Linked DNA regions of Homo sapiens: all the other regions are linked to region 4. Evidence: promoter capture Hi-C in 16 types of primary human blood cells and fetal thymus (Javierre and others, 2016). All regions are on one chromosome and are shown on one strand. Each heading gives the region's core, a stretch centred on a gene start or on the middle of the fragment in contact. The rest is flanking DNA. Distances are from core to core; before and after follow the strand shown. Region 1 overlaps RPS6KA2 (ribosomal protein S6 kinase A2). Region 2 overlaps MPC1 (mitochondrial pyruvate carrier 1). Region 3 overlaps SFT2D1 (SFT2 domain containing 1). Region 4 holds the start of RNASET2 (ribonuclease T2). Region 5 has its middle 43 kb from the start of PRR18. Region 6 overlaps LOC101929297 (a long non-coding RNA gene). Region 7 overlaps RPS6KA2 (ribosomal protein S6 kinase A2).

What was found. Contacts are between HindIII fragments. The CHiCAGO score rates a contact against its expected background, and 5 or more counts as called.
Region 1: a contact is called between a fragment that was not itself captured here and the fragment with the promoter of RNASET2 in region 4, in 2 of 17 cell types (fetal thymus and non-activated CD4 T cells). The highest score is 7.4, in fetal thymus.
Region 2: a contact is called between a fragment that was not itself captured here and the fragment with the promoter of RNASET2 in region 4, in 8 of 17 cell types (monocytes, total B cells, naive CD8 T cells and 5 more). The highest score is 9.5, in monocytes.
Region 3: a contact is called between a fragment that was not itself captured here and the fragment with the promoter of RNASET2 in region 4, in 1 of 17 cell types (activated CD4 T cells). The highest score is 6.2, in activated CD4 T cells.
Region 5: a fragment that was not itself captured here is called in contact with the fragment with the promoter of RNASET2 in region 4 in 1 of 17 cell types (M0 macrophages); the score reaches 6.3 in M0 macrophages.
Region 6: a contact is called between a fragment that was not itself captured here and the fragment with the promoter of RNASET2 in region 4, in 1 of 17 cell types (non-activated CD4 T cells). The highest score is 5.9, in non-activated CD4 T cells.
Region 7: a contact is called between a fragment that was not itself captured here and the fragment with the promoter of RNASET2 in region 4, in 6 of 17 cell types (non-activated CD4 T cells, total CD8 T cells, naive CD8 T cells and 3 more). The highest score is 10.1, in non-activated CD4 T cells.

What each region holds. Positions count from the first base shown.
Region 1 is chr6:166,441,582-166,444,281 of GRCh38, forward strand. All of the region lies in intron 14 of RPS6KA2 (ribosomal protein S6 kinase A2), which reads right to left. Among named protein-coding and RNA genes, the nearest start is that of RPS6KA2-IT1, 22 kb to the right of the region's middle. The HindIII fragment of the contact is 188 bases long and covers 1,239-1,426 here.
Region 2 is chr6:166,377,634-166,380,493 of GRCh38, forward strand. The region is part of intron 1 of MPC1 (mitochondrial pyruvate carrier 1); the gene reads right to left. Among named protein-coding and RNA genes, the nearest start is that of MPC1, 3.9 kb to the right of the region's middle. The HindIII fragment of the contact is 1,619 bases long and covers 603-2,221 here.
Region 3 is chr6:166,337,895-166,340,594 of GRCh38, forward strand. The region is part of intron 1 of SFT2D1 (SFT2 domain containing 1); the gene reads right to left. Among named protein-coding and RNA genes, the nearest start is that of SFT2D1, 3.3 kb to the right of the region's middle. The HindIII fragment of the contact is 5,592 bases long and covers 1-2,700 here.
Region 4 is chr6:166,955,286-166,957,985 of GRCh38, forward strand. It overlaps RNASET2 (ribonuclease T2), which reads right to left and starts at 1,265. Exons shown (of 9, transcript NM_003730.6): 1 at 812-1,265. The coding sequence starts at 897. RefSeq lists silencers at 1,031-1,790, 1,831-1,930, 2,201-2,250. The HindIII fragment of the contact is 12,502 bases long and covers 1-2,700 here.
Region 5 is chr6:166,264,425-166,267,124 of GRCh38, forward strand. No RefSeq gene overlaps it. Among named protein-coding and RNA genes, the nearest start is that of PRR18, 43 kb to the right of the region's middle. The HindIII fragment of the contact is 6,772 bases long and covers 1-2,700 here.
Region 6 is chr6:166,246,308-166,249,007 of GRCh38, forward strand. All of the region lies in intron 2 of LOC101929297 (a long non-coding RNA gene), which reads left to right. Among named protein-coding and RNA genes, the nearest start is that of PRR18, 61 kb to the right of the region's middle. The HindIII fragment of the contact is 1,053 bases long and covers 838-1,890 here.
Region 7 is chr6:166,409,439-166,412,138 of GRCh38, forward strand. It overlaps RPS6KA2 (ribosomal protein S6 kinase A2), which reads right to left. Exons shown (of 21, transcript NM_021135.6): 21 at 1-2,700. Among named protein-coding and RNA genes, the nearest start is that of MPC1-DT, 28 kb to the left of the region's middle. The HindIII fragment of the contact is 742 bases long and covers 948-1,689 here.

The sequences.
Region 1 (2,700 bases), core at 83-2,582, 510 kb before region 4:
AGGACCTGGCACTGGATCCTCTGGAGTGAACTTGAACACAAGCTCCCCTGAGTCCTCTCCTTCTCCGGCCCCGTGCGGCTCACTGCAGCGCCCAGCGTTAGGCCATGGGCTCTTTCAAGATGTAGCTTCTGCAACAAGCCCAGGTGCTGCCCTGAGGACGAGCAGGCTGTGATCCACAGGAGCCGGGGCTAGTGCTGCCAGTGACCTCGGAGCACAGACTGAAAACAGAGGTCTACATGAACGCAGACCATCCTGAATGCTGTGGGGAAGGAAGCTGGAGCAGCTGCCGGGGGCCGGGGGCCGGGACCCTGGCTAGGGGCCTCGCAGCTGAGTGCTGGAGGAACCAGGTGCACTGTGCCTTTGGAGGTGAAGTTAGAGGAAGCGGTCCGGCTGCCGCTCAGCACTTACACAGCTGAACCATGGCCCACTTGGTGGCAGCAGGACCTTTCACTGGGGTACACCCAGACTCATAAGACCAGGAGACTCAGGTGCGATTTTACATAGAGCTCCACTTGCACCTGGCACACCTTCCCCTTACAGCCTAGGGACTTTGGCTATTTATCAAACAATGGATTTTTCTTGCAGGTCCCATGACTTGAGCTTTCCAGCTATTCTGAAGCCCAGCCTTACTGCCCAGCCCCATCTGCTCTGAATACTGCCTCATTCTTTCATGGTTTGGGTACTCTGAGATGCATAGAGCATCTGGCTGAAACAGAACACTGGGGCTCCCCGCCTTATGACGAGTGAGTCTGCTGGACAGGGGTCGAGAGTGTGCACTCGGGGTCTGACTGCTTGGACGGGAACCTGCTCTCTCACTGACCGGCTGCGACTTCTCGCATATGTGTTGAACCGTTCTGAGTTTCTGTTCCCTCATGGGGATAATGAAAATAATTACACCGTGGGATGCTGTGAGGATTAAATGACTTCACACATACAGAGCGCTTATAGCAGTGCTTGGCACGTACTGAGTATGAAGTATTTACTCTCGTCATCCTCGTAACTCTCGTCACCATATTCTATCTAACGCCTGCAGCTCCTGGTCTCAGGAACTTCAGTTCTCGGGCAGTTTCCTCTTCATATGTGTACTGACGTTGGTGTTTTGCAAAAGAGGGTCAAGGTGGCAAAATTGGCACTCGAATGATGTAATGTAGTTTTATGCCTATTATGACATCTATAATAAATAAAAACTTCAGTCATTAGTAGAGATGGCCAAGAGCTCTCTCAAGGTATGTGTATTAAGCTTATGAGAAGGGGAGATACTAGTGACACAAGCTAACATTTCTGTAGTGAATTAGCTATGATATGTGTAGACAGTTGACCCTTGAACAACATGGGGGTTAGAGGTACCGACCCCTCAAGAAGTTGAAAATGCACATATAACTTTTGACTTCGCCAAAACCTAACTAATGTCCCACTGTTGACTTAAAGCTTTACCAGTAACATAAACGGTCCATTAACACATATTTTGTATTTGTATAATTATATACTGTATTAAGAATAATTATACAATTATATACTGTATTAAGAATACAGTATATAATTCTGTAATAATACGATCTAGAGGAAAGAAAATGTTACTAAGCAAATCATAAGGAAGAGAAAATACATTTAGTGTATGGGACTGTATTTATGGATATAGTGAGTTTATGCCATCTGTTCACAAGATGGATCGTCTGTCTGAAAAGGGGGGCACTCACAGCTGCAGACCTCAACCTGGGGTACGTATCATGCAATTCAACTTTTGTTTTTTTTGGTCATGTGATGACTTTTCTCTGCCTCTTGGGAGCACTCACAGCGTCCCTAGTGGCACGGGACTTCTTAGTGGTTCTATGGTGTTATTCAAGGTTTATGGAACTGCACTAAACACGGTGAAAAATATGTGAGAACCACAAGATACCATTTTTTACTGCTATTCCCAATTCCCTGGAGAGACAGACTCCTCACATGGAGACGAGGAGTGTCACAGGACGTTTAAAGCGGATCCTTCCAACACCTGAGCTTACTACAGCAGCAATGGAAGGCTGCTGTGAAATTCTTACGGTAGTGCCATATTCGCCACAGTTAATTTGCTGCAGCTATGATTTAATGCTGAATCTATGTTTGTTTACATTTATCTCAACTGCAAATGGCGCCACGTATGGTCTATGCTTGAGCACATAAATTTTGATACATTTTAAGTTTGTATAATAAATCTGTGTATATTTTATAGTAGAAAATGATAAAATAGACTAGCATCTATGTATATTTTATGCATCCTGACATACCATTTTCTTAACTTTTTAAATATTTCTAGGCTATGTGGTTTGTCTGTGAGTTTCTTCAAATTGTAACAAATCTCTAAAAAATTTTCCAGTATATTTACTGAAAAAAATCTGCATACGTGGATCCTCACAATTCAACCCCGTGTTGTTCAAGGGCCAACTGTATATATTTACATATTCCCCCACCAATATAATGCCAGGAATCCTTCCATTTATACAAATCAGCACTATCTAGAATATGTACCTAATTATGTTAAGCAACAAAGTCCTAAGAATAAAATAAAAACAAATAATTCCCTCTCTCAATTCTTATAAAGTGAATACAGCATCTTTGATGGAATAGGAATATTATTTTTTCTTTCAAATACACCTCTCCCCTTCCTTTTAATCCTCCTGGATCACGATTACCTCCAACACTTAATAGTCACTTCTATTTTAA
Region 2 (2,860 bases), core at 162-2,661, 580 kb before region 4:
ATTCTACAGTTTGCTGAAATTTATTCTTACCAAATTTTGTCTAGTTTTCTAGTTCAAATTAAAATGAGGGAGGGTTTTGACAATTAGAATTTGTGATATTCAGCTATATTTAGCGAGCCAAAAGTCAGCTGAATGACAGTAAAGATCTTTGTGACTGGACTATCCAGATATTAAGAGATTCTTATGGCCAGTCCTGCTTCAACATTTCCAGCTTCATTCAATTTCTGAAAGTCAATTATATGGCAGGGAAGTGCTCAAAGAGTCCAAGGACCGGGTGTGAAAAGCAGTTTGGCAGAGAAAAGGGAGACATATGCAGGAAAACATGGAGCACAAAAATATCTAAAACCTTCTTTTCAAAACCATTTCTATGCATTACTATTTTCCTTTAAATCCCAAGTTGACATTTCTGTTTTAGCTTCACAAGTTTGGTATCCAGAGGTTCTGAAGTTATCTGTTTGGTTCAGATATCAGCCTTCTCATGTGGCAAATGAAGCACTGGAATTTCTAAGGCCTGTTCCAACTCTAATATTCCACAAGTTTGGGAAAGATTCACTTTTATTTTACTGCAACTTCTCACCTGGGTAGTAAGTATAAATTCTGAAAGCTTTCCTGGAGACTCAGAAGTTAAAATTAATTTAGAATACCTGATCAACTTGAGAATATTCAATGCAAACATCCCACTAACTTCAGATTCATAAGCATACTAAGTGATTAACTGATTTTAAAGCACTCTATGATCTAGGTTCTTCTTAAGAAAACATCCTCTGCACACATATACAAATACATGTGTGTGTGTGTGTGTGTGTGTGTATCCATTCACCTTTACTGTAATATACAAACTTGAGAAGAGGAATAAGTCGCTAGAATAAAGCTGCACAGACCTTGATTGAGTTAATCATTAAAATATATGTCCTACCTCAAAACTGTTTTGCTTATTCTAATTTATTCTTCTTAACCAGAAATCCAGGAAGGAGAATGAGAGAAGAGGAAAAGCAAAGAAGAGCTCTCTTTTTCTATTCTGTCAATAAGAAAGGTGAGGGAATAGTTTCTTAAGAAAAAGGTATTGGAATAGAGACCCAGGAAGTTCTTGATTCAAGATCCTAATCAAGGTAAGTAACAAGAGATGGAAGAAAGTACCAAAAAGAGAGTACCAGAAATCCTGGGGATTAAACATGCAATATTAGTTACAATAAAAAATAAATTGAACACTTACTTTTGTCAAGCGCTATACTATGTCATTAAACAGCTACGAAAGCACAAAAGCTAAACAATTTGCCCAAGCTCACAAAGCTGGAAAGCAAGAGCTGGGCTTCAAATCCATCATTCAAACTCATCACCTAGGTTTAACGGTATTATTATCACAATTAACAATTGTCAATAATTATTTAATATTATTTAATACTGAGATCCTATTTAAGTGTTCCGTTATCCCAGTAATGCCTTTTCCAGCTGTTTTTTCACACCAGGCCCAATCAAAGTCCACACATTATCTTTGGTTCTTAGGTGTCCTAAGTGAGAGCCTGTTTCATAACCTCTTTCAGTGAAATAAAAAAAAATCATTTAAAATACATGTGGATGGGCTGGGCACAGTGGTTCATGCCTATAATCCCAGAGCTTTGGGAGGCCAAGATGGGAGGACTGCTTGACACTGGGAGTTCAAGGACAGCCTGGGCAACATAGCAAGGTCCCATCTCTAAGAAAAAACAAAAAACTAGCCAGGTATGATTGTGCACACCTGTAGCCCTAGCTACTCGGGAGGCTGAGGCAGGAGGCTCACTCAAGCCCAGGAGTGGGAGGTTACAGTGAGCTATGATCATGCCATTGCACTCCAGCCTGGGTGACAGAGTAATACCCTGTCTCTAAATAAATAAATACACTTGGAAATTCAGTTTAGTAAGAATGTTCAACTTGATTCATAAAACATGATTGAAATAAATTTATAATCTGTGTAAAATATGATTTTAAATTTATGCTGAAAAACTCAATTATGTTATTAATTTTTAAAATTCTAGAACAGCTTTAGTTGAGAAAACCTCTAGACCCCTTCAGTAGGCTACAAAAAGAATGCAGAGGATGCAAAGTGTGTACAACAGGCAACTGATGAAGTAAAAAGAGGAAGGGATGGAACCTTGTTTCTGATTAGAAGAAAAGAGATACAATGACGTTTTCTGCTTTATATTTTATTCTCCTTTGCTAAAGAAAAGCCGGGCTGTAAGCGTAAAGCTTGGAAGAACAAATAGGAAGTACTTTCCTCTGATATGTTCTAGGAAGAAATGTTTCTCTTTCTAGGGCAGGAAACACTAAAATAAAAAGCTTCTGGTCAGAGTGTTGATACCTGACCTCAAACTGGCCCTCAATCACTGTTTGGCAGACCTAGCATGAATTCCCACTGCTGCCAAGAATGGCAGGGTAAACAGATCAGCTGAATGTTTCACATCACGTGTTCACCTTTCAAAAATAATTTCAGTTCAAGATCATAGAGCTTTATAGCTCACACAAGATTTTAACTTTCTAAATAACTGTAAACTTTAAAAAATGTTTTCGCTTGCAAAAACAGAAGGATATAATAAAATGTAGAGTGATTTGGAGTTTCCAAGTATTTTCACATCCCTTATCCAATTTAATTTTCTTGATAACCCAAAAAGAGCATTATCATTAAACCCATTTGATGGACAAATAAAGTCTGCTGGGATCAACTTGCTGGGGATCCTGGACTGTAAGTCATTCTTCTGAATCTTAGTGTGGTGCTCTACCAGGCAACACTGTTCCGAGTAATGCAATTCTCTTCTTTTCCTTATTTAGTCAAAGTGTAATTGAATTAAATACTGGAGAAAGTATAAAAATTTAAAGCTACATAAAG
Region 3 (2,700 bases), core at 71-2,570, 620 kb before region 4:
TCATGGGGATGGAGTCCTCATGAATGGGATCCACGCCCTAATAAGACGAGAAAGAGACTAAAGCTCTCTGCTCTCTGCCATGTCAAGATATAACCAGAGGCAACAGTGTGACACCAGGAAGGGGGAGGCCTCACCAAGAACCCATGAGTGCACCTTGATCTCTGACTTCCGGCCTCAAAACCCGTAAGAAATAAATTTCTGTTGTTTATAAATCACAAAGTCTAAGGTATTTTATTACAGCAGGCTGAATGGACTAAGACATCTCGCAAATTGTCAGCAGGGGTTAGTAGGACTCCCACAAGAGAACTCTGTAGAATGTTCCGGCATTATGTTCTTGTCATCTAACTCCCAACAATTACCTTATGCCAATGCCCTCAGCTCTCCTTGGTAGTTACCCAAATCCAAACAACTCACTCATCTGTTTGTTCAACAAGTAGTTATGAACAGCTATTAGACACCAGGTACTTGGTAGGTTCTACATACACAGAAAGGAATAAGACAGCACCTAGCGTACTTACATTCAGATGGGGGAAAATGGGCAATAAACTAATGAGGCAGGTTCTACTAAGGACATAAATAGGGGCAGAGTAACTGGGTCAGGAAGAGCCTCTCTAAAGAGGTGACCAAGTGAAGACATCAGGAAGTGACCAATCCAACTCTGAAAAGAGCCAGGAAGGGGCATTCCTGAAAAAAGAAATGCAACTGCCAGGTCTCCCAGGCAGAAGAAAATGGCTCCAACTGAGGAGGAGAAAGAGGGCAGGGCAAGGCAAGCACTGGGGAGAGGGTGGGGAGGCGGGCCGACAAGCAGTGCAGGGCTGAGAGGCCAAGGGAGGGATCTGGATTTTACTCAAGTGCTGCAGGAAGTCAATGAAGGATGTGATCAGGGGAGGAATATGATCAACTCTCTTAAGATCTGGCTCAATATCTCTCCCTCCTTGACTTCTTCCCAGGCATCTCGAAGGAGAGGTCCCAGAACTCTGGCTACCGTGCCTCTCCCCGGGGCTCAAAGCGCCTGCATAGGAGGATGATGCAGCCTGGATGTCAGGATGCTCCCCTATGACCTTCACTGCCTCGCCCAACTCCTCAACTGGCCTAGAACCATCCCTGTCAAGACCCAATTCCAATGTGCCCGCCATCCTGGTTACGTCTTGCTGCACAAGACGTGCAACACTCTCAGGTCATCCCTCACCCCATTCAGGTCTGTGCGCCTTTAATCCCATCTCATCTCCTACCCATCTCCAAAAACCAACAGCAAACCTCCCTATGTCCTCACCCTCTTCTCTGATGATCCTCTCACCTTCCGGCTAGGTTTGAAATTTAGTCTCCAGGACCAGGGCTCTCCCCTGTGAATCCTGTACCACTTGGACAGGCAGTGAGCTAGGTGTCTGCCCTCCTCACTGCCACTTCCTGCCCCTTCCTCCTCCCTAGAGAAACCTGCTTTCCAAGTCACTCCTCAATAGCCCCCTAGCAACAATTCCCTCTTGCCTGCACCATAATTTTCCCCTTTCCTGGACCATTCCCAATGCACAGAAACATCCAGTATTTTCCTTGGGAAAATGACATGTTCCCCGACCCCACTGCATCCTTCAACTACCACCCACTTCTTTGCTCCACAGGAAAAATCACTGAGATGGCCATACCATCTCCATCTTCTTTCTATTCTCCCCTGACTTCAATCAGGCCTCTGACCCCATCCAGCCACCAAGACTGCTCTCGTGGAAGTGACAACTGATAACCTCCACGGGTAATCTGCTCTTAACTTCTGAGACCCATCAACAGTACTGGGTCCCATCCCCTTCCTAAAGCACTCTCTTCCCTCACTTTCTGGGGCATCCTTCTCTCTTGGTTCTCCTCCTCCTTCTCTCGCCACGCCTCTCAGCTGTCTTTGCCGGCTTCTGCTCATCCTCTAAACTTCTACACACCTAGAGAAAACCAGAGGTCAAACCTTGGACCTCATCTTGACGATCTCATCTCTCTCCTATTTCCTCCCACAAACTCTACAGTGTTACGTCCAACTGCTTTCCTCACATCTCCACTTGGATGCTACCTGGATCTCAGACTTCACGTCCACACTGAAATGATTTTCCTCCCTGAACCTGCTCCTCCCACAGTCACTTAATGGCAACTCCACCTCTCCAGATGCTCAGGTCGAATGCCATGAGGCATCCTTGCCTCCTCCCACTCTCACACATCCAATCCGTCAACAGTGTGGCCTGCTGGCTGTACACTCAGACCATTTACAGAATCTGACCACTTTTTTGTTTTTTAAACAGGCTTTTTTGCTCTTTAAACCACTTCTATCACTGATTTGAGCCACAGTCATCTCTTGCCAGGACAACTGTACTTGTCTCCAGCCCAGTCTCTGGGCTTCTAACATTGCCTCTACAGTTTGTTCTCCACAGAGCTGCCAGAGTGATCCTTTAAAATCCAAGTCGGTCACACCACCACTCTGCTCTAAACCCAAAGGCTTCCTATCACACTCAGAGTAAAGCTAAAATCCTTTCTATGGCCTATGAGAACCCTCACAATTGAGAATCCCCCTTCCTGCTTCACCTTTTCTTCTACAATTGTCCCTCTTCTCTGCCCCGCTGCTAGAGCCCCTCTGGCCTCCTTACTGGCCCTGAACATGCTGACCACACACCACTTGGGACTCTGTATCTGCCTTGGAGGCTTTTATTCACAGGATGCTCAGACATCCCA
Region 4 (2,700 bases), core at 15-2,514:
ACACGCACAGACGCGCACACACGACACACACGCACACACACGCACGCACGCACACGCACACGCACGCACACACACACGCACACACAAACGCACACGCACACACACACACGCGCACACACACACGCGCACACACACACACACGCGGAGGGCGAGCCAAGGGAAGGGATTCAGAACAGGATACTCAAAAAGAGGAAGAACCGTCGTTTCACCACCCGCCGCAGTGAAAGCTGAAATTAAGTGTCCCCTCCACGACTTCTTCGACCTCTGAGAGAACTTCGAGTGCAGGAACAGTGCTCCACCAAGCCTGCCACCTGCTTTGTCGCGTCCTAGGCTGGGAGCAGTCTGTGGGATGAGTTTCCAGTCCAGCTCCAGGCTGGAGTGTACCCAGGACCTCACCCTACCCCCTACTCCTTCCCAGGGGTCACCCCGGGGAGTGTTCAGGGCTCCCCAACCCACTTCTTCCCAGGAGTCACCCCAGAGCGTGCCCAGGGCTCCCCCCAACCCACTCCTTCCCAGAGGTCACCCCGGGGCGTGCTCAGGACTCCCCTCATCGCACTCCTTCCCAGAGGTCACTTCTGAGTGTGCTAAGGGCTCCCCCCAACCCACTCCCTCCAGGGGTCACCCCGAGGCGTGCTCAACTTCCCAACTTCTTCCCAGGGGTCACCCCGGAGCGTGCTCGGCTCCCCCCGCCCTCCCCAGTCGCTGCCCGGGGCTCAGCGACCGCCGACCCCGAGAGCTGCAGCCTTCACCCAGTGGAAAGCTCTAGGGCCCGGCTCCCACGCTCCCCACTTTACCTCGCAAGGTAACTCACCGCAGGCGCTTGTCCGCACCGCCCAGGCAAAGCAACGCCAGGCAGAGGCAGCCCAGCAGGGCCCCGCGCAGGGCTGCAGGGCGCATGGTGCCGACCTGCGGAGAGAACGCTGCCAGCTGCCGCTCCGGCTCCCACTTCCCACCTGCTGCCCGAGGAAGACTTCCGGGAGAAACGCTGTCTCCGAGCCCCCGCGCCGCCGCGCTCCCTCCGCTGCAGCAGCGGCCACCGGGTGCGCCCGGAGCCCTGGGACGGCCTAAACCAGTATCTCGCGGGCCCCGCGCCGGGCTCCGGGAATGGCCGCAGCAGCCCTGGCGACCCGGGCCCCTCGGAGCTCCCCTTCAGGATCGTGCACCAAGCGCGCACGTCCCGGGCTCTGCTTCGCGACCCACAGCGACCCCAGCTCCTCCACGCTGCAGCCGCCGTCCGCCCACGACCACGGTCAGTCGCGTTGCTCCCAGCCCAGGGCGCCCTGCGGGCCTGCACCGGAGCAGAGAGCCACGCCCCCAGGACGGCACGCCCCCGCCGGTGGACACGCCCCCCAGAACGGCACGTCCCCGCCCGGCGTTCACGCCCCGCCCCGTGGTTGGCTCAGAGAGGCCGAGGCAGGAGCAGCTCCGCGGGCCTTGAGGGCGTGTCAGGCGGCTGTGTTCCTTCGCCACGCAGGCGCCCCGCGCCTTTTCCCGCAGCTCTGCGCCACTCCCACACTCCCGGGTCCGAGCTAACCTAGACCACCCGTGAGGACCGCCCTCGGGGGGACCGCCCGTGTCTGCGCCATCCCCCGCCAGCAAGTGGGCGTGCGGGCCCCAGGGCCACTCTACTCTCCAGGGACAGCCCCCAGCCCGACCCGCGCACCCTGCAGGCCCGCGGTCCGCACGCAGCACCCGCTTTCAAAAACTGCGCCCTGCAAGCTGCCCGGGAGCTCCTGACTGCAGATGGTGCTTGGCCGCCCAGGCTCCCCGCAGCCTCCCGCCACCTCGGCGCTCCACTGCGCAGCCCGAGGGACGGCTCCAGAATTAGGAGGGGACCTACTCGGGTCACTCTCCTGGAAACCTCTCCAGTCTCCCGGTGCTAGGTGCTGGGAGCACCAACATTCCTAGAAGGGCCTGGCCCTCACCCAGCCCTGGGCCTCACCTGCCCCTCCCCGCGGGCCCCAGGAGCCCGGAAGTCATCTCTGTGGGGGCAGCAAAGAGCCGCCTCGGGGCGCGACCTGGGAAGTCATCTTGTGAGGGATCCCCTCCCAGAGGGACGGGCCACCCCCCACGGATGAAGGGGACTTCATGTCAGCCCCACCTTGGCGTAGCCAGGGCCAGTCCCATAGGCCCGGTCTCCTCCCCCAACACCCTGGCCTTCCCAGCCCTTCAGAGGCACGGGTTCCCCTGCACCCGCGGCCCCGCCCACGGGCTGTGCACCCGGCATTGTCTCTGCAGATGTTTCTCCTCTTTCCCTTCCCTGTCCGCACACCCACAGCTAGTTAAGGCTATTCCTATTTACACGTCGAGTAAACTGCGCCTTCCTCGGGGTCCTCTGCCACTGGTAACTGTCTAAATAGCAGGTGGGCCTGTAGCCTGCTCTCCCACAGGCCTGGACCTTGCCTGCATGCATTACCATTCTTTGAAACAAAATATTTAAATGATTAATCTGTTTTTCCCACTAGACTGCAAGGCAAGGCCCATGTCTATTTTGCCCACCTTGAGTCCCTGCCACTGAGCACAGTGGATGGGGGACAGTCGGTGCTCAATAAAATGCCACCTGTGGAACAGATGGGGGGGGAAAATGGCTGACACCTCCTTAGCTCCTCCAGGACCTCCTACAGGTCATGGTGTTATTCTCGTTCTCCTTTTCCCTAACGACTTATTTGTTTCTTTCCGGCTCCTTTCATTCCTTCCTCT
Region 5 (2,700 bases), core at 13-2,512, 690 kb before region 4:
TTGGAGGCAGGCTGCCCACAGTAAATCCTATATAAGCGCTTGCTATTCTATTATTATCAAGATTTCAACAATTATGACTATTTAGTTCATGGGCTCTGTGACATCTATCTTGATTCTTAAGATCATTTTCCTTATTTCTTGTTATCTGTGAAGTCTTGAATAGCTGAGGTTACTGAGTAGTTCACTTCTATATAGGAGAGATACTATAAATGCTTCAGTAATGCACTCATGATGGAATGAAGACAGTTGACCATGTTCTTTGTTTTTGGTATAATTTTAAAAGATATATAGACACATATGCACATGTATACATACATATGCATACATCACATGCACTCATTTGTGCAAATAACCAATGGAGATTTAATGTCACTGTGAATTGCAAAACACACTCTACTGAGAGTATTAAAAAATAATGATGCTCACAAACTGAGATAGGTTGTCTTGATCGGACTCTGGTCACCCTGTTTAGGAAACAGTGTAATTGTACATGCTATGGTCTCCTCCATTGAGTTCAAGGACTCAGGAAATTGTATACTAGGTTTCCTGAGACAAAGCACCACTTTAATCAAATAATTAGTTATTTTGGTGTTTTAAAGCACAGCCCACAACAAACCATTATTTATTGTCCACCTAATGTATGCAAAGTAGCAAAACAAATAGATTTGCTATTAGTTTTTTAAAAAGTTAAATTATTTCTGGCGCCAGAACTAATTATTTAGTTAAAATCACTTTAGCATTGCTGCTATGTATATACTTTTATTAATTATCTATTTGATATAAATGTCTTCAAGTACGGTCATTAATGGAAAATGTTTGCTAAAACCAATAAATGATAGGATTTTGAAATCCATCAAAGTCTGCCAAATGCTAGCACTTTCACTTGTGTCTTGGTTCCTACTAAACAATTAACATTTATTATATTAAAATCCTTTAAGTTAACCATTTTATCTTGGCAGTTATCAACTCTGAGAGAGCGAATTTGTAGAGCCCTAATTCTGCAGCGAAGGCAAGTCTGTGATTTTGAAAATGGGGAAGATTGGAATCTGCCCTCTTCAGACTTAAAACAGGGGATCTTAATCAGGCTCCTCTTTCCTGGTGGATGGAGGTGGGGAAAGGCACGATTCTATAGACCAAGCCTGGCTGGATCTGTCGTCTTTCGTTCAGGCTTCAAAGTACTGGTCATGCCAAGTTTCATGTGGAAGGACGGTAGAGCCTGATAAACCTGCCCTTGGCCGTCCTCGGAGAGATTGACTAGGCCTGTGGTCAACGCTTTAAGTATCTTGTTCTGCACTGATCTCATCCTTTGGTCTAACCTAGAGATCTACAACTCAACAAATGTCATCATCGGTGTTCCCCGGATGAGAAAAATCAGTGGCTTACATGTTCATAGCTACTTGAACAGGAAAAAAAAAAAAAAAAAGGGCTTTGAGTTTTTCCTCCAAAATATTGTTACCCCTGAAACACATCTGTAGGCCTGGTTTTGAAACCCGTGGTAGCAGAGCCTACATGTTAGGGGCTTGAGGAGGACAGGGAGGTTGGGTGTTTCCACTCTGCATGTGAATCCTCTGAATTATACTTTTTTTACTCTGCTGTTTCAACAGTCCACTTGACATTAATGCCTACTAATTTGGGTAAATGTGGCTCTAGATCCTTTAAATGAAGAAAAAATCAAAAGCATGAAAAAGTGAAAACAAATTTAAATTTAGCAATTCAAGGTGCAATAAAACACCACCATATCCTTTAAAAAGGTAATTACATTGTAAGTCTCTGGTTAAAATGGAAACTGAGAGAAAGATTAATAAAATACATTATTGAGAAAGTAATCCATTTTTAAAGTTCAACTAATTCAACACAGCATACATTTACTAAAAGCCTAAACTATATTCCTGTCATAAGTATAATTAAGTAACTAATAAAATAAACCCAAAGCTCAATATTGTTTATATGGCTTGGAAGTAATTCCCAAGTACTTCTGAGCCCCAGGGGTAGGAGCCTTGTCCTGAGTAAGTCACTTCATTTGTCTAGGTGTTAATTCTTCTAACTGTAAAATGAAAATTATTTCCTCATGGAAAAATTCTTCTCTCTTCCTGTTTCCTTATAAGGCCCTTCAAATCCATTACCTTCTAATACTCCTTACATTCCTCCAGCATTAAATAAGGTGTTTAAACACAAGGTGAGTCATTTTCTTTTTTTTTTGGAAACGGAATTTTTTTGCTCTTGTCACCCAGGCTGGAGTGCAGTGGCATGATCTCGGCTCACTGCAACCTCTGCCTCCTAGGTTCAAGCGATTCTTCTGCCTCAGCCTCCCAAGTAGCTGGGATTACAGGCACGTGTCACCATGCCTGGCTAATTTTGTATTTTTAGTAGAGACAGGGTTTCACTATGTTGGACAGGCTGGTCTCGAACTCCTAACTCAGGTGATCCACTCAACTCGGCTTCCCAAAGTGCTGGGATTACAGGCGTGAGCCACCGCGCCCAGCCAGGTGAGTCATTTTCTAACTTGAAAATTCATTCTAATTATATTTATTGTCAACATAACTATATAAAATCTGTCCAATTCCTCAAAAGTCAATTTCAACAATGCGTTTGAAGGCAGATGCTTTCTCTGCCCATCACTGACTAAATTCCTTAGCTTTTGGGCCTAGGAAAATGACATGAAAATCCGGCAAGATGACGTCATGCCACAAGAAGGTTAAT
Region 6 (2,700 bases), core at 114-2,613, 710 kb before region 4:
TTTAAAATAAAATTTCCCTCGTATTGAACTGAACTTTAACTTCTTTGTAAATTATTCCCATTGGCCTTATTTCTGGTCTCTGATGCTACCTAGAATAAATACGAAATATATTTATTGGAATATTTCTTGCCTTAGCTCAGGCTACTGTAACACAATTTCACATGCTGGATGGCTTAAACAACAGAAATTTATTTTCTCACAGCTCTGGAGGCTGGAAGTCCAAGATCAGGATGTCAGCATGGTTGAGTTCTGGCGAGGGCCTCCTCCTGGCTGGCAGACAGCAGAGAACATCAGTCCCCTGTAAGGCCTCCCTCATGATCTCATTGAACCTTGTCACTGCCCAAAGGTGACCTCCAAATACCACCACATTGAAGATTAGGTCTTCGACATAGAAATTTTGGGGATGAGAAGGACACAGTGCAGTCCACAGCAGAATAGTCAATAAAACATGAAATAAGTATAAAATCCACATGCAAACCCCAGGTATTTCAGGCTACTTACACCTCCCCTTGGACCTTTCTTTCCAGGCTCAGATACACCTGCTTTAGTCTTTACTATGGGACAGCTTCTAGAGCTTTACCATCCAGCTGAGCTTTCATTCTTAAAAAGGACTACATTTTTCATCCTTGTTTTGAAACCTTCATGAAATTCCGTAAGTTGTCCACCAAAATCTATCCCATTCTTGCTAGCACTAAATACTTTTATAGCTATGTATATACCTATGGACAAATAAACTGATTTCAGTTCTTTGAATACAGAGGGGTAACCAAAAACCACACCAAAAATGCTTTAAAGTCTTTGATTTTTACAGAGATAATAAAGATGATTTCTTTCAAAAGCTTCGTATTTCTAACACTATTGGAGAAAACCACCTTTCCTAGCTTAATATGTAAGATTTATTTTGATTCAAAAGTGTTAACTGGAACTTCTGCCTCTAAAGTCACGACAGCATTTTGTCTTCTCTCTAGAGAACGCTGCACATTTGTAAATGAAACTTTCAGCCATGTTCAACCATCGGACAGACTGGCCCCCCCCAAATACCACCCTGTCTAGCAAATTGAGACTGTCACACCACATTCTTATTTTTTATTTTTTATTTTTGACGGAGTCTCACTCTGTCGCCCAGGCTGGAGTGCAGTGGAGCCATCTCCGCTCACTGCAAGCTCCGCCTCCCGGGTTCATGCCATTCTCTTGCGTCAGCCTCCCGAGTAGCTGGGACTACAGGCGCCCGCCACCATGCCCGGCTAATTTTTTGTATTTTTTAAGTAGAGACGGGGTTTCACCGTGTTAGCCAGGATGGTCTCAATCTCCTGACCTCGTGATCCTCCCACCTCGTCCTCCCAAAGTGCTGGGATTACAGGCGTGAGCCACCGCGCCCGGACCACATTCTCTTCTAAGGCAGGAATCATGCCTATCTTTTTGTACATCTTTGAAATGAAACTATGTGGATGATGCAAAATATTACTTTGCATGCAATTAGAATTTTTAAATGCCGGTTACACCAATCACTTTACTGAATGAATATTTTAATGCTAAGTGATGAAAAAGATGGAAACACAGTAGACATACAAAAATATTCCCTAAGAGAAATGAAAATATAATGTTAGATAACGCATTTGTCATCTATACGAGAAATCTCATCTGCTTTTCCTGGGGGAGCCCACTGTCCTTATCAGTGTGTACCACGGGCCTGGTTTCCTTCTCCTAGGAGCAGCCAAAAGCCAGGGTCCAGGATTAGACATTGCAAAGAGATATTTTAGCACCATCAAGAAGGCCGATTTGCTCATGTGGTAGTAGAACATTGCATTTGATATTATAAATTTTCATTAGCCTGTAAATAAAAAAGAATATAAATTCACAATGAGATATACTGCTTAATATTAAGGATAAAGCTTTAATAGTTAAACAATAAATTCTTCCTTTGGTGTAAAACTAGAAATGTATAGTCCTTTCAACTATGCAAGATTTATTTTGATATTTCAATATTCAATAACATTTTTATATGCATATATATAAAGATATACATCTGGAAAACTCTTTAAATTTATCATCATGTAAAAAATTTTATTGATGTGTTATTCATTCTTAGAATTCTAGAGAAAATTAACTTTTTTATGTTGATAAAGACATAAAGACATGTTTTTATATACAATTTATACATTCCATAATTATAGTAAATAATATTTGTAGACACCTATTTAGATCAAAATCCAGTATTTTCTAGAAAATGGTACCATTGTCCTTTTGTGAATATTTATGGACAGGTTGCTCTCTCTCCATGCTAAGATTCCTTCCTAAGTCTAGTCCCATGACTATAGCAGACCTTTAATTACCAAATGCCCATTGAGATGTCCAGTTGCAATCAGGACGCCTTCTTCACACAAGTCTTCTTTTTTTTTTTTTGAGACGGAGTCTCGCTCTGTCGCCCAGGCTGGAGTGCAGTGGCACGATCTCGGCTCACTGCAAGCTCCGCCTCCCGGGGTCATGCCATTCTCCTGCCTCCCGAGTAGCTGGGACTACAGGCGCCCGCCATGACGCCTGGCTAATTTTTTGTATTTTTTTGTAGAGACAGGGTTTCACCGTGTTAGCCAGGATGGTCTCGATCTCCTGACCTCGTGATCCGCCCGCCTTGGCCTCCCAAAGTGCTGGGATTACAGGCGTGAGCCACCGTGCCCGGCCTTCACGCGGGTCTTCCATAAA
Region 7 (2,700 bases), core at 69-2,568, 550 kb before region 4:
AAGCGTAATAAATATCTGTACAGTGGCCACCCATCTCAAACATGAATTACAAAGCAGGAACATAAAAATGATGTGTAAACATAACTGCTGAGCCAGTGAACAAAGTGCTGAGTCAGGAGCGAGGCAGAGAAGCGTGCTCAGTAGAACGACACAGATGCTGCAGCCTCCGTCCTCAGCCCCTCAAGCTGCGCTGGAGTCCACCTTCCGCCCTCTCCACACCGCTCAGGGACCGGCAGCGTCCTTCTCCATTCTCGAATTTGCATGACGCTTAGAAAGGTAGGAGGCAGCAAAACGTGTCAGAAATGAACGGAGTGCAAATCAAACTTTGCCATGTGCTTGAGAGAATCAGTAAAGCGTTAGGTAAAAATCCCAAGTGCAGCTTTAGGATAACACCATTTAATGAACAATACTGGATAACATTAAGTACTATTATCACTTTAAAATTCAAACAATCTTCCAAACATCAATACATACACAGTTAGTTTAAAATCACAGACAAATCGGACTTGAGGGTAAAAGTGAAATCCTCACCTCTTGCCCATGTTTGACTTTGGGATGGAATTCAGCAAAGCTCTCCCACTGCAGATTGGGAGAATCAGGTATTTCTCCCACATGGGGGGCTGCCAGGGAAGGAGGACCCTATAGGGTGGCCAGCAAGGGGCCACTGGCGGTAGGTCAGGAAGCCTGAGATCTAGGGTTCAATGTGTTTATAAGTTCTGTGATTTTCATGACCCGGGGGTGGGGGGTTGGGTTATGATGAACTGTGTGAGGAAGGAGAGCCAGTTAACTTTTGGGGAGGTCTATGTCATTTGTGCAAATCATACGGAGCATTTCATTCGTTGTGGAGGTGCGCTGAGCTGGCAAAATGCGAATTCTAAGAACACCTTCATTTACATGTCGACTGCTGCTTGAAAGCAGTCACTTGCTATTTCACTAAGGTTTTTGAAAGCTTAGTTTAACATATGATACCATAACTTCTTTAGGCTGACTTTTGTGGAAGGATGTCAAGTATCATTTTGTTCTGGATATGGGAGGGAAAGTAGAGGTATTTCACAGACACTCAGCGGAGCAGGGCCAAGCCAGTGTTCTCCTCCGCTGATGCACATCAAATACATGTAAGGACAGAGCTCGCTGTGATGGGGAGTCTCGTCGGTCCCTTTGGCATTCTTAGAGTTCAGAAGCTAAGTCTGTACAAACTGGGATGACTGAAAAAGACCATGAGCTGGTGCCCCATGGGCACACAAGGAGGGAAAACCGTGGCCGCTTTCTCACGGATGCTTTCCCTTTCACTTCCCCCACTTCTCACTCCCTGCACCAGAACCCACTGACTTTAAGCAAACAGACAGGCCTGCACACCAAGCCAGGCCAAAGGGTCCGGGCAGCTGATGGGGGAATCGTTGCCTGTGTAGCAAGCAGAAAAGGTGATGACTTTTGTTCATTTCTGGGAGGACAGATTGTGTGACCTCAGGATTATCCACTTCTTCCTAAGTTTCTAAAAAGAAGTGAAATAATTAAGACCTAAAAAGCAAATTCATCATGGTGGAAGTCGTTCTAGCCTTGGGAAAAAGCATCTTCTATGGAGAAAATGTGAGGAATACCCTGTGGGCACTATGGAAACAGGTATTCAGTCCGACTTGCTCCTTTTATGTTTTGTGGTTCTCTAAGAAAAAAAAAATCCACATGGATTAAAGCTTGTGAAACAAGTTTATATTTTAAGGTCTGAAAACAATCAGACCAAGCTAAGGAGTTATTTTTCAGAACGCAGCACATTTTTTCTTTATTTTTTTTTTTTTAGTTGGGTACGAGAATCGAGATGGAGGGGGAACAAAACCCAACAAAATAACATCTTCTTAGGGAAAACCTGGCTGTGGCCAGCGGGCACCTCCTGAAGCCCTGCTTGCTGCAGAGGCGCCGCTCTTCAGTGATGCAGGGTGAGGGGCTGAGCGGCGCCTCCTCCCATCTAGTCTGCTTGGGGGCCGCCAGGGAGCATCTTCAACACCCTTACAGGACAATGAAGGACCCGTGTGTTCCCTCTGCCGGCTGGACTGGGCGTCGATCCTGCTGCCCGGAACCTCTCACTCGATTTTACTCAATGAAGTAGAGCACAGCATGGCCTAAATGCCCCACACCCGCCCTGTGTGCACACCCAGGGGAATACGGATCAGTGTGAAAAAACAGATCTGTGCAACAGAGACACAAAACGCAACACAAAGCCACAGCATCTACAAAGTGCATCGCTCCTGTCCACGCTGATCTCCGCTGCCCTCCCACCTGTGCCTCTGCCCCTCAGTCTGCTGGGTGGGGCCTGTGTCTCCCTCCAGCCTCCAGCTGGACTGAGAAGGTTTGGGTGGGAAGCCACAGAGCTCCATTTCTCCAATTCACAGTTTCTCCACAGACCAGAAAAATCGAAGTGAACACAGCAAAACCACAGCTTTAGGTGAGCACACAGGAAGCCGACACAGGGCTGAGCAGGTGCGAGAACCCACGACTCCCTGCAAAGCCTCCAGATAGCTGTGTGGCCACGGGAGCTGGGGACAGACGGCAGCCCAGTGCGCTTGGCCCCCCGGGGAAAGCCGAGACTGGAGGTGGACACAGGCTCCTCCGAGAGGCACCCCCTTCCATCCTGGTGACACGGAGCTCTCAAGGCAAAGATCCAGCCTGCCTTCCTCTCGTCTGGGCTCTTACTCCTCATTTGAATCT